Linked DNA regions of Homo sapiens: region 1 is linked to region 2. The links are contacts of gene promoters, found by promoter capture Hi-C in human tissues and cell types (Jung and others, 2019). All regions are on one chromosome and are shown on one strand. Each heading gives the region's core, a stretch centred on a gene start or on the middle of the fragment in contact. The rest is flanking DNA. Distances are from core to core; before and after follow the strand shown. Region 1 overlaps PAFAH2 (platelet activating factor acetylhydrolase 2). Region 2 holds the start of CD52 (CD52 molecule).

Region 1 (6,811 bases), core at 498-2,997, 330 kb before region 2:
CATCTGCCCTCAAGAAAGGTGAGAGGATCTGCGAGCTGCCTCTAAAGCTAGAGTCCCCCCTTTCCTCCTAGGTGGAAAATGAACGCATTATCTCTGTCTATTGGGATGTTTCTAATGTTTGGAAAGAGGAAGAAAAAGCTCAGGAAGACAGACCTGGGGGCTTGATAACCAAATCCAGACCCGCTCTAATTCATTTTCCCCACCGTGGGAATACAGGATCAGACTTGTGATCAGTAAGTCACGGTGCCGGCAGAAGCAGTGCAAACAGAAGAAAGGGAGCTGGGGACACTTACCTGGAGATTCTGACCCTCCATCACATCCCCACAGCCTACGAGGTGGGGTCCTGTGACAGGTGGAAAGCCCACAGACTGGTTGACCCCCATTTCATCACCGGGTGAATCAAATGACTTGCCGGAGCTGAACTTGCTGGCTGGATGGGGGAACACAGAACAGCAGCCGCTTGCTGGTTTCCTCTCGGCTTCCTGTTGCTGAAATGTGTTATCTGTTACCCTGTCCACCCCTCCTTAGCACCTCATCCTCCCTGCCGTCGCTCATTAAATCTTGCACCTACTACTTTGCTACATTGCCTTTGCCAAGGTTGGGGGTTGTTTTTTATTTTGCTAGGGTGAGGAGATGGCTGGAAGACGAAAGAGAGCCATCCATACTCCTTACAGCCCATTAACGTATGTTTATCCAGCAGCTACTGCTGCAGAGACTGTCACACAGACCTTGCTCTCCTGAGGCTAATAGTAACCACTAAGATCCATTATTTACGGTTAGCACTGTACTGACCTCTTTATAGACACTATACACATTGCATCATTTCATTGTCTCAACCACTCTCTGAGGTAGGTACTTTTTTTTTTGAGACGGAGTCTCGCTCTGTTGCTAGGCTGGAGTGCAGTGGCATGATCTTGCTCGCTGCAACCTCCGACTCCCTGGTTCAAGCGATTCTCCTGCCTCAGCCTCCTGAGTAGCTGGGATTACAGGCACGTGCCACCATGCCCAGCTAATTTTTTGTTTAATTTTTAGTAGAGACGGGGTTTCGCCATGTTGGCCAGGATGGTCTTGATCTCCTGACCTCGTGATCTACCCACTTTGGCCTCCCAAAGTGCTGGGATTACAGGCGTGAGCCACCGCGCCTGGCCTGAGGTAGGTACTATTAAGACCTTGTTTTGGCCAGGCACGGTGGCTCACGCCTGTAATCCAAGCACTTTGGGAGGTCGAGGCGGGCAGATCACCTGAGGTCAGGAGTTCAAGACCAGCCTGGCCAACATGGCGAAACCCCGTCTCTACTAAAAATACAAAAATTAGCCGGGTGCAGTGGCAGGCACCTATAGTCCCAGCTACTCAGGAAGCTGAGGCAAGAGAATCGCTTGAACCTGGGAGGCAGAGGTTGCAGTGAGCCGAGATTGCACCACTGCACTCCAGCCTGGGTGACAGAGTGAGACCCTGTCTCAAAAAACAAACAAACAAACAAAAGACCCTGTTTTACAGATGAGGAAACTAAGGCATAAAGAGGTTGAATAACCTTCCCAAGTTACCCAGTGGCAAACCCATCTCTGCCTAATCCGGAAGCTAAGTTCTTAACCATTACTGATCCTGCTCAGGGGGAGATTCAGTTATACAGATGCAAAGTTACTGAACTAAGCTTTTTCTTAAAACCGTTTGATTTTTTTGAGAGACAGGGTCTTGCTATGTTGTCCAGGCTGGTCTCAAACTCCTGGGCTCAAACAATACACCTGCCTAGGCCTCCCAAGTAGCTGGGATTACAGGTAAGAGCCACCACACCCAGCTTTTAAACTACTGAATATGGGGTAGCACTTATGCTGGGCCTTTAAAGATGAGGAAGTTGAGAGGCAGGGGAGGAGGAAGAAAGCACTTATAGAAAAAATCCTAAGAGGAAAAAAAGCAGAGGTAGGGAAAAGTATGATGTGGGCAGTAGATCAAACAGATGCTTTCAGCATGACAGGCATGCACACTCCTGACTAGATAACATTCCTACGGCTCAGCTGCTTCCTAAACTGGTGCCAGTGCTCCCCTAACCCTCTTCAGTTTCATCATCTCCAACACCACCATCATCATCATACTTACTCTGTGCCAGGAACTATGTTTAGTGCTTTTCACATATTATTTTATTTAATTCTTTCAACAGTCCTCTGAGATACGTATTATTATCTCATTTTACAGATGAGGAAACAGATGCTTGACAAAGGCAATTTACCCAATAACATATGGCGAGCAGAGCCAGAATTCGATCATGGACAATGTGGTTGTAACATGAGAATGTCAAACTTCCCAGTGTCCCTTGCCTTGTGATTTGGGTGGGGCTGACCCCTCCTTAACCTCCGGAGTTGAGCCTTAATTAACCGGAGCCAATCAGTCCTTCTTATTCTCCGGTCAGTATTTGGATGAAAAGTGCGCGTATGGCATTAGGTTGGTCCAATAGGCGTAAAACCCGGGACTTTGGTATGACGGTTGAGGGGAGAAAAGTTATTTCCTGTGTTGGACTAGTGTGATGTGCAGATGTCACCTGTCAAGTGGCCTTGAACCACAGCAGCCACTTTTGCCACCTTGAGGATGAAGATACCCATGGTGGATGGGAAAACCAGAAGAATCACAGAGAAATAGAGGCCCATTTGTGAAGACATTAAGAATCCACAGATTAGACCATACCTGAAACCTGACCCACTCCTAGACTTTCTAGTTACATGAGTCAGTAAGTTCCCTTTCTTGGTTAAACCAACTGAAGTTAGATTTCTTTTGGTTGTAACCAAAAGCATCTAAATGGATACACACTGAGTCTGGGGTCCACATGTTAATGATTAAATTATTCTGCTTCCTTTAAGATGCTCTGGGAGGGATTCAGGAGTTCCAGTCAAAGCATGTCTGGGTAAGAAGAGACCTAAGGGAGCATTTCCGTCAATCCCCTCCACAATCGTTTTCCCCTTCTCCGCGTACATACACGTGCTTTACCAGGGAAGACACCAAGGTCCGGAGAGATTAAGTGAGCTGCTCAGAGTCACAAGCAGAACGATGATAACAACACACAGTCTCCTGGTTGTCAGCTGCCACTTGTCTGGTCTCAACAATCCTAACATCATTCTATTTAACTTTGAAAGATAAGAAATTATTTTCTTTCTACTACAGATAGCATCTTCATTTTGTTTCTTTTTAGCAAATTTAAAAACAAACCCAATTCTTTTGAAAAAGAAGCTAAGCTCCTGATGTCAGTGGGTTGTTCAGCCAGAGTGAAGGGGGATGAGCTCTGCTTAGCCTGAGACCCTGACCTTTCCCCATCGCTTGTTGTTGAGGTCTGCAAATGGAAGACCTACTGCTGGGGCCACAAGACACCTGTCACTCACATGACAATGAAGCAGCTGCAAGTTCAACTGTCATAAAAGAAAAGCAGATAAAAGACCACAGGAGTTCTGAGAAGAAACAGTGCTCCTTTAGCTTGGAAGTAGAGAGCAGGGGAAGATGGGAAAGGCTCTTTCAAGCAGGAGAGAGCAAGCAAAGGCACGGTAAGAAGGAAGCTTGTGTGAGAAACAACGCAAGGTGAGAAGAGAAAGTTGTGACCAGATTTGGGGAGGAGCAGTCCCTCAAGTGCTAAGCTAAAAAGTTGGAATCTACTCTGGAAATGAGGTCATGTCCATGAGAGATAGTCTGAAAGAACCACATTGGAGGCCCAGCTCATTTGGTGCCTAGCTTTTTTTTTTTTTTTTTGAGACAGGGTCTTGCTCTGTCTCCCAGGCTGGAGTGCAGTGGCTCACTGTGGCCTCACCCTCCCAGCTCAAGTGATGCTCCCACCTCAGCCTCCTGGGTGGCTGGGACTATAGGCACTTGCCATCACACCCGGCTAATTTTTGTATTTATTTGTAGAGATGGAGTTTCATCATGTTGCCCAGGCTGGTCTCAACCTCTTGGGCTCAAGCGATAATCCTGCCTTAGCCTCCCAAGGTGCTTGGGATTACTGGAGTGAGCCACCGTGCCAGCCCTGCCTAGCTTTCTTATCTTATGCAAGTTATCTGATCTCTCTAAGCTTGATTCCCCATCTGTACAATGGGAACACTATCCATCCTCACAGGGTTGCTGTGGAAATAAAATGAAATAATGCATTCAAAGCATCTGGTGTGGTACCTGACTCTTAGGAAGCATCCAAGAAATGTGCTGATTGAGTGAAAAGTAGAAACACTAGGGTTTGGCCACTGAGTGAATCTGGGGAGTCAAGAGCCAATAAGTCAGGTTTTAAGATTGGGGAACCAGGACAATAGTCCTTAAGCTTCTTATGGGAACAGATTTTTGTCTCACTCTGCATAGAGAACAGCACTTGGGATAGGAATCAGGATAAGCGGACTTGGAAATGGCCAAACAGAAGACAGCAGAACTCTCTGGTGCTCCTGGAAAGTTTCTGGGAAGATCATCAACTAAATTGTTTGGAAATAAAAATTACAGAAGCTAATTGGCCAGAGTGAAGCTAACACGCAAATGAATCTTTATTTCCTGGACTCACATTGACTGATGTCCAAATAGGATGGAGAGATGGAAAAATCCAATCTGAGTTGCAAATTTTGCCAAAGAGACATTTACACAAAGCATCCAGAGTCATTTCTAATAAAAGTCATGGAATTTTCCAAGGAAATCAGTCTATGTGTCTCTACCTTCTTTTGCTCACTTTGTCTAAATAGTTCATGGTAGTACCTGTCCAGAAGCCTCTCCATCCACTGAGGCCCAGTGAAATCTCTAGTCCTCTGTGAAGCTTTCCCAGGTCCTTCCAACCTTTCCTCCTATCATCTCTGATCACTGTCCACATCCATTATCTGGTAACCAATCTTAGACTACTTTAGGGCAGCTCTTGGATTAACACCTATTCTAGCAGTTTTCAACCAGTGACTTGCCTGCAACAGTGGTCCATAGAGAATCTAGATCTTAGGTTCCTGAACCTATTGTCACAATCACCTGGGAAGCTTTTCAAAAATGTATATTCTGGGGGCCCCTATTTCTAGTGATCAATTCGTTTGTAAAAGCTTCCCAGGTGTTTCTGATCAGCAAAGTTTGAGAACCTCTGGTCTAGACTTTGATTAGAAATGTCTCTGGATGAACTTTTCTTTCATTCAGACACGTATGCATGCAGCAGACGCTTACTGAGTATATACTGTGTTCTGGTCCACATTTTCACGACTACGATTTCACTTGCTATAATCCCCATGGCCACCCAGAAGCATGTTCCTATCACTAGACTTAATGTAGTGCCCTGCATATAGCTGGTCTCAATAATTAATTTATCCAATGAATACTATTTAATTTTTGGCACACTTATGCCTCATCTCTTCAGATCTACTCCGGGGGTAAAGATTGGGTTTTATATTTTTTTGTAGACCAAACTGTCTATCTGCATGCTTTCCCCATATAGTTGGGACTCAATAAATGTTCCTTCATTTGGCTATGATTTAAACCCATCTCAAGTCTTCTTTAATCTTTGTTTTTGATCTAAAAATAAGGCTATATGAAATAATGGGGGACAAAGGTTTTGATGACTCTGAATTCTACCCCTGTCACTTATTAGCTGTGTGATCTTGAACAAGTTCCTCAAACTCTAAGCTTCTGATAATTTATTCTCACAACAGAAATAATAACTATGGCCAGACGCAGTGGCTCATGCCTATAATCCCAGAACTTTGGGAGATCAAATGGGAAGGATTGCTTCAGCCCAGGAGTTCAAGACCAGCCTGGGCAACATGGCAAAATCCTGTCTCTATAAAAAAATTAAAAAAAAAAAAAATTAGCTGGATGTGGTGGTATGCAACTGCAGTCCCAGTTACTCAGGAGGCTGAGGTAGGAGGATTGCTGGGGCTTGGGAGCCGGAGGCCACAGTGAACCAAGATTGTGCCACTGCACTTCGGCCTGGGTGACAGAGCGAGGTCTTGTCTCAAAAAGAAATAGTAACTATGGGCCGGGCGCGGTGGGAGGCCGAGGCGGGCGGATCAGGAGGTCAGGAGATCGAGACCATCCTGGCTAACACGGTGAAACCCTGTCTGTACTAAAAAAAATACAAAATATTAGCTGGGCCTGGTGGCGGGCGCCTGTAGTCCCAGCTACTTGGGAGGCTGAAGCAGGAGAATGGCGTGAACCCGGGAGGCGGAGCTTGCAGTGAGCCGAGATCGCGCTACTGCACTCTAGCCTGGGCGACAGAGCGAGACTCCATCTCAAAAAAAAAGAAATAGTAACTACTCACGAGATTGTTGATGAGGATTAAATAATGCATGTAAAGCACTCGATGGATAGAAGGTACTATAACCATAGGAGGCAACTATAATTATTTTAACTACATGCCTCTCAAGTTCCTTATACGTAAAATGGATACTTCGTAAGTGAAAATATTGCCTAGGGCCTGGTGCATTTTCAGTGCTTATAAAATGTTAGGAACTAATTAACAATGCTATGTCTCTCTTTCCTAGCCAAGGTCTCTCATTTTTCCTGGATTAAGCCCTTTGGCAAAACAGATTCTTTCCCAGCAGCCTTTTCAGGCCTCAGACACCCCTACCAAAGCCAGTGTCTACTGAACAGGCCCAGAGGAGCCCAGAGGGAATGGATGGGGCTTAGGTTGCAGCTGTCCTCTCCTGCTGGGACCCTGTTTCTGGTGAGCAGAGGACTGCTGCTCTGCCAGCTGTGTGACACTTTCATCACTGGCTATTTCAAGATACAGTCCAAGATAAGCACTTCTCTTGTGCTTCCTTTCAGACAAAGCTCTCTGAAGACTAAAAGCTCATTGGCCTGACCTTTGGTCTCTGGAGGAAGTGAGGAAATATCA
Region 2 (6,426 bases), core at 2,868-5,367:
CACGATCTCGGCTCACCACAAGCTCTGCCTTCCAGGTTCATGCCATTCTCCTACCTCAGCCTCCCGAGTAGCTGGGACTACAGGTGCCCGCCACCATGCCTGGCTAAGTTTTTGTATTTTTAGTAGAGATGGGGTTTCACTTTGTTAGCCAGGATGGTCTCGATCTCCTGACCTTGTGATCGACTCGCCTCGGCCTCTCAAAGTTCTGGGATTACAGGTGTTAGCCACCGCGCCCGGCCGGTTCTTTACTATAATTTCTAGTTCTCAATCTTGTCCTGCTGCTCAGAGGGCAGAAGAGGAAAATGTCTTTAAGTAAGCATAGTTATTTGAAAATTTGATTGATTATTCCATTATCTGGATCTTTTGTATAACTTTCTATTATCTGTTTCTGCTTTTTGGTCATGTTGTCTTCAATTTCTTTGAGGGTTGGGCTGTTGTTTCCTGTTTACTCTCACTCCCCGTGGTCCAACCCAAAGCCTAGGTGGGGGGAGTTTGTCAGGGCTCCCCTTTCTTAGAGAATCTAGAACTATAGTTTTTCTCCCATACATTTGTAAGTATGTGAAGATGAGAAAGCTCAGCTCAGTTTCTCAGCTGTCCCCTCTGCAAGTGGCATACTTTTAGGAGGAAAGCAGCTCCATATAAAGGGCTTGCTTCTCTCAGTCCCTTATTTCTTTTCTGCATTGGTAACTTTTCAGTACTGACTTTACTGTTGCCCCATAGTAAATATTTACTGGATGAATAAATGCAGGACTACTAGGCTCGGAGGTGGGAATAGATCTAGATGAATACACGCACTCATTCTTCCGGCAGTCCCTGACACCTACACTGTGCCATGTTCTGTGCTTCGCTGAGTAAGAGAAGTGACAAAATCTAGTCCCAACCCACAAGGGACAGACCATATTCTTGGTAGACACAATCTTTAGAACAGAGGTCAACAGAAAGGGCCCTTCGAACATTTAGGAACTTTGAGTTTCCTAGGGAAAGTGGAAAGTTTCCCTGGGGAAGGGGCTTCTAAGCTAAATCTTGAAGAATAAAGAAGAGTTTGCAGTCTGGGCAACATAGCAAAACTCCACCCTCCACCACCCCAAAAATTAGCTGGGCATGGTGGCATGCACCTGTAGTCCCAGGTACTTAGGAGGATGAGGCGGGAGGATTGCTTGAGCCCAGGAGTTCGAGGTTACAGTGAGCTATGATTGCACCACTTGTACTCCAGCCTGGGTGACAACGGCAAGAACCTGACTCGAGGGGAAAAAAAAAGAGTTTGCCAGGTAAAATAATTGGAGAAGGGCTTTCCTTGCAGAGGAAATACATGGACTGTAGAAGATACTCCTCAGGGTGTCAGGAGGTGAAAATGAAGCTTCTGAGGTTTGCAAGAAAATGTTTACAAATAAGAGTCTGGCATTTAGTATCCTCGCATGCATCTCCAGCATGGGAAACTATAACACGGCTGGCCCCAGGCTCGTCCTGTCTGGCTGCCTCTTTGTAAGAGGGGAGAAGATTGCACAGTGTGATGGAGCTCATTTTCAGCAGAGTAATCTCAGACTTCAACACGGGTATCCTGTCTTCTGGGCTGGTGCCCTTCTGGCACAGGACACCTCCCTGACTCTCATGAACCCCAGAATCACTCACCCCCACAGGCACACCAAAGACAGCTGAGAACTTGAGTCAAGGGTGAGGAGAGACCTCTGGGTGAAAGGGCAGGGATGGGGAAAGAGGGTGATGGATGGCTGGGGACTCCTCCCTCTTCTCTCCCTCCCCGCCCCTCCCTCTCCACTTCCTGGCTTTCTCTCATCAGCTTTGACTCTCAGTTCTTCTTTTCTTCTCTTCTCTTTTTTTGAAATGGAGTTTTTCTCTTGTCGCTCAGGCTGGAGTGCAATGGCACGATCTCGGCTCACTGCAACCTCCTTCTCCCGGGTTCAAGTGATTCTCCTGCCTCAGCCTCCCGAGTAGCTGGGATTACAGGCATGTGCCAGCACACCTGGCTAATTTCTGTATTTTCAGTAGAGACAGGGTTTCACCATGTTGGCCAGGCTGGTCTAGAACTCCTGACCTCAGGTGATCCACCCACCTCGGCCTCCCAAAATGCTGGGATTACAGGCGTGAGCCACTGTTTCCTGGCCTTTTTTTTTTTTTTTTTGAGACAGGGTCTTGCTCTGTCACCCTGGCTGGAGTGCAGTGCCACAATCATGGCTCATTGCAGCCTGGGCCTCCCAGGTGCAAGCAATCCTCCTGCGTCAGCCCCCAAGTAGCTGAGACTATAGGTTTGTGCCACTATGCCCGGCTAATTTTTTTTTTTTTTTTTTTTTTTTTTGAGAGATGGGGCCTTCCTATGTTGCCCGGGTGGTCTCAAACTCCTGTGCTCAAGTTATCTGCCCGCCTCAGCCTCCCAAACTGCTAGGATTACAGGCGTAGCCCCTATGCCCAGCCTCTGTTTTTTTCTTTGGACTCAGCCTCAGCCAGATCTCCCCTGGGCTTGCAACACAAGGCCCAAAACAATAGAAGAGAAGTGAGGGGAGTTTTCCCTTTACTACCTAGCATGTAAATGAGGCCTAAAGTAGACTAAGGAAGGGAGAGTGTGAAGGGAGAGTGGGCCAGAGCTGGGGTTGTGGTGACCAACTCCTGGGGCCTGGGGGGAGTTTGTGTAGGGGAGGGGGAGGGAGTGGCAGGGAATCAAGACTTAATGGATGAATTCTAGGGCAGCCCCAGAGGTTACATACATGGCTGTGGCTTCAGACAGACCTGGATTCAAGGTCAAATGAGACTGGCTCCACCATTTACGACCTTAGCAAGTCACTTAACATCTAAGCCTCAGTTTTTTCACCAGTCAAATGGGGATAAACATAACACCTGCTGCAGGGCACCACAGAGGGTATCAAGTGAGGGAATGCATAAAGCATGGAGCACTATCCAGGCAGCTGTGGGATTCCTCTCATCCCCCCACCCCTCCCTGGGCCCTCACAGCCACTCTCTCACCCCAGTCCCCTTCCACTGTAGCTTAGTCACCCACTTGTCCCTTCCCTCGCTCCCCTCCCATTCATCCTCAGCTAATACAAACAACCCATCTGCTTGCTACTTTCTCTACCAAAATCACAAAATTCTAGGTCTTGGCTGGGCGCGGTGGCTCATGCCTGTAATCCCAGCACTTTGGGAGGCCGAGGCAGGCGGATCACTTGAGATCAGGCATTCGAGACTAGCCTAGCCAACATGGTGAAACCCAGTCTCCGCTAAAAAAAAAAAAAAAATACAAAAAATTAGCCAGGCATGGTGGCACACACCTGTAGTCCCAGCTATGCGGGAGGCCAAGGCAGGATAATTGCTTGAACCCAGGAGGTGGAGGTTGCAGTAAGCCGAGATCATGCCAGTGCACAGAGCAAAACTCTGTTTAAAAAAAAAAACAAAAAAACCAACAACAACAAAACAAAACACTAGGTTTTAACAAACTTCAGAAATAATCTATTTCAGTCTTCCCAGTTCCTTGAAATGAGGAACTGAGGCCTAGAGAGGGAAAGCCCAACTGAAACCAGGCTTCCCGATTCCTCACCTCCAGCACCTTCACAGAAATCCACCAACCCTTCCACAATCTAAACATTTCCCAAGCTTTCATTCAGAACCTGCAGCCCATCTACAACCTTCCCTTGAAACATAAATCTATCCCAGCCCTTCTCCTTCAGCTCCTATACCCTGCCCCAATCTTCTTTAAACAACAAACTCATTTACGGAATATCTGCTATGTTCTGGCTCTTTTTAAATTGGTTATTATTACATGTAATCCGGCAGTTCTTTTGTTAAAGGGTCAGAGAGGTAGAGTTTCTGGCCCAGGGTCTCAGAGCTGGTCAGTGATTAAACCAGGATTCAGCCTGCAGGATGCATGATTCCAGGCCTTGGGCCCTACTTACTCCCACCGTTGCCTCTGGATTGACCTCTCTCCTATCTTGTACGATCTAGCCTGCTCCCCCAGCCAGGGCCTTAGAACCTAGAGCCTGGTATTATCCACCCCCAGATCTGCAGAAAGGAAGCCACACCCCTCCTCCACCTTGTAAGCCCTCCTTCCTCTCCCTACCTCACCCCGCCTCCTCTGCCTCCTGGTTCAAAAGCAGCTAAACCAAAAGAAGCCTCCAGACAGCCCTGAGATCACCTAAAAAGCTGCTACCAAGACAGCCACGAAGATCCTACCAAAATGAAGCGCTTCCTCTTCCTCCTACTCACCATCAGCCTCCTGGTTATGGTACAGGTAAGAGCAACGCCTGGCACCACTGCCAGGACTCCCCAAAGTTGCTTGGCATGGAGGGAGGGCATACAGGATGTGAGCTCCCAGAGACCCAGCCTTCTCTCCTGAGAGCACAGCAGATGGACTCCAACAGGAAAACTGGGGACACAGCGGGCCTGGCCGCCCAGCCTTCCAGCTCTTCTGGCTGGGGCTGCACTGCTTGCGGGCTGCCCTGAGAGAAACCTGTATCCACAGCTGGGGAGCACTTACAGGGTGCTAGGCGCGTTGGGGCACCCAAGGGGTGTTGTGGAATAATAGAGAACTAAGAGACTTGGGAAGACAACCCTGAGTGAGGAAGGCATCGGCCCACAGGGAGTCTGGGGAGATGGTCCTTTGGGGAGAGGCCAGGAGATGTCCAAGTGGAGCCTGCTGTGGTTATGGAGGTGACAGGGGACACTCTAACCCCCACTCCCCTGCCAGAGAGAAGCCTGGATGTTCAGGAATGCAAAGAAGACAGGACTCTCCCATTTCAGAAACAACTGGAGTCTCAAAAGCGACTGCTATTCCAGGAGGCAGCTTTGGTAGCATCCCAGGTGCCCAGAGGGGAGTCAGTACAGCAGACCGGAGCCATCAAGTTCTTGATCAAGAACAGCTTGATCACCATCAAAACCAGCTTAATCTCCATCAAGAACAGTTCTAGTTGCAGCTCCATCAAGCATTAAGGACAGCTCGATCACCATCTGGCCACTTCCCCACCCCACATCCAGCCACCCACGCTTTGCCAAGTGCTTTCTCACTCAGCCCTGGCTCATGTGACCTTCACAACTGTGATGAACTTCTCCCCACTCAGAAGATGAAACTGAGGCTCAGGGAAGCTAAGCCCTTTGCCAGGCTAGGAAGGTCAAGGGCCAGGGCTCCCCTGTCTCCCTCTATGCCAGAAGGGCTGGTCGCTGGGGAAAGGTGAAAAGAAAGGTTCTGTGACCGGGCACGGTGGCTCACGCCTATAATCCCAGCACTTTGGGAGGCCGAGGCAGGCGGATCACCTGAGGTCAGGAGTTCAAGACCAGCCTGGCCAACATGACAAAATCCCGTCTCTACTAAAAATACAAAAATTAGCTGGGCGAGCCGGGCGCGCTGGCTCGCGTCTGTAATCCCAGCACTTTGGGAGGCTGAGGCGGGTGGATCATGAGGTCAGGAGATCGAGACCATCCTGGCTAACACATTGAAACCTCGTCTCTACCATAAATACAAAAAGAAATTAGCCGGGCGTGGCGTGGTGGCGGGCGCCTGTAGTCCCAGCTACTCGGGAGGCTGAGGCAGGAGAATGGCGTGAACCTGGGGGTGAAGCTTGCAGTGAGCCGAGATCACGCCACTGCACTCCAGCCTGGGCGGGCGACAGAGCAAGACTCTGTCTCGGAAAAAAAAAAAAAATTAGCTGGGCGTGATAGCGGCTGCCTATAATCCCAGCTACTCGGGAGGTTGAGGGGTGGAGGTTGCAGTGACCCGAGATCATGCCACTTCACTCCAGCCTGGGCAAAAGAGCGAAACTCTATCTCAAAAAAACAGAAAGTTTCTGTGAAAGGGGGTGGACAGGGGCAGTGATCACCTCTGTCCCTGCCTGTGTCAAAGCAGGAAGCAGTCAAACATCCTGACAGGACCTTGTGGAAGAAGTAGTGGTCACATGGGGCAGAACTGAGGACTGTTTTATGGAGGTGGGCGGATGGAGGGCGGGGAGGGTAGAAAGGGGACTGCATCTTTAAATAACAAACACGCTATTCAAAAGTCCCCTGAGGGCTGGGTACGATGGCTCACACCTGTAATCCCAGTACTTTGGGAGGCCGAGGCGGGTGGATCACCAGGTCAGGAGTTCGAGACCAGCCTGACCAACATGGTGAAACCCCGTCTCTACTAAAAATAGAAAAATTAGCCGGGCGTGGTGGCACGTGCCTATAGTCCCAGCTACTCAGGAGGCTGAGGCAGGAGAATCACTTGAACCCGGGAGGTGGAGGATGCAGTGAGCCGAGATCGCATCACTGCAGTCCAGCCTGGGTGACAGAGTGAGACTCCACCTCTAAAAAAAAAAAAAAAAGTCCCCTGATCTTATCCCACTTCTCCTCCTACAGATACAAACTGGACTCTCAGGACAAAACGACACCAGCCAAACCAGCAGCCCCTCAGCATCCAGCAACATAAGCGGAGGCATTTTCCTTTTCTTCGTG

The links. Contacts are between HindIII fragments. The study calls those that stand out against the background at their distance.
Region 1: a fragment that was not itself captured here is called in contact with the fragment with the promoter of CD52 in region 2 in 4 of the 25 tissues and cell types used here (H1 embryonic stem cells, adrenal gland, bladder and 1 more).

What each region holds. Positions count from the first base shown.
Region 1 is chr1:25,990,434-25,997,244 of GRCh38, forward strand. It overlaps PAFAH2 (platelet activating factor acetylhydrolase 2), which reads right to left. Exons shown (of 11, transcript NM_000437.4): 2 at 294-430. The coding sequence starts at 383. Among named protein-coding and RNA genes, the nearest start is that of PAFAH2, 4.2 kb to the right of the region's middle. RefSeq lists an enhancer at 3,138-3,649. The HindIII fragment of the contact is 7,134 bases long and covers 1-5,314 here.
Region 2 is chr1:26,313,841-26,320,266 of GRCh38, forward strand. CD52 (CD52 molecule) reads left to right here and starts at 4,118. Exons shown (of 2, transcript NM_001803.3): 1 at 4,118-4,231; 2 at 6,331-6,426. The coding sequence starts at 4,178. It also overlaps a transcript of UBXN11 not described here. RefSeq lists a silencer at 3,908-4,100 and enhancers at 4,175-4,244, 4,375-4,524, 4,898-5,883, 5,025-5,124. The HindIII fragment of the contact is 5,127 bases long and covers 2,478-6,426 here.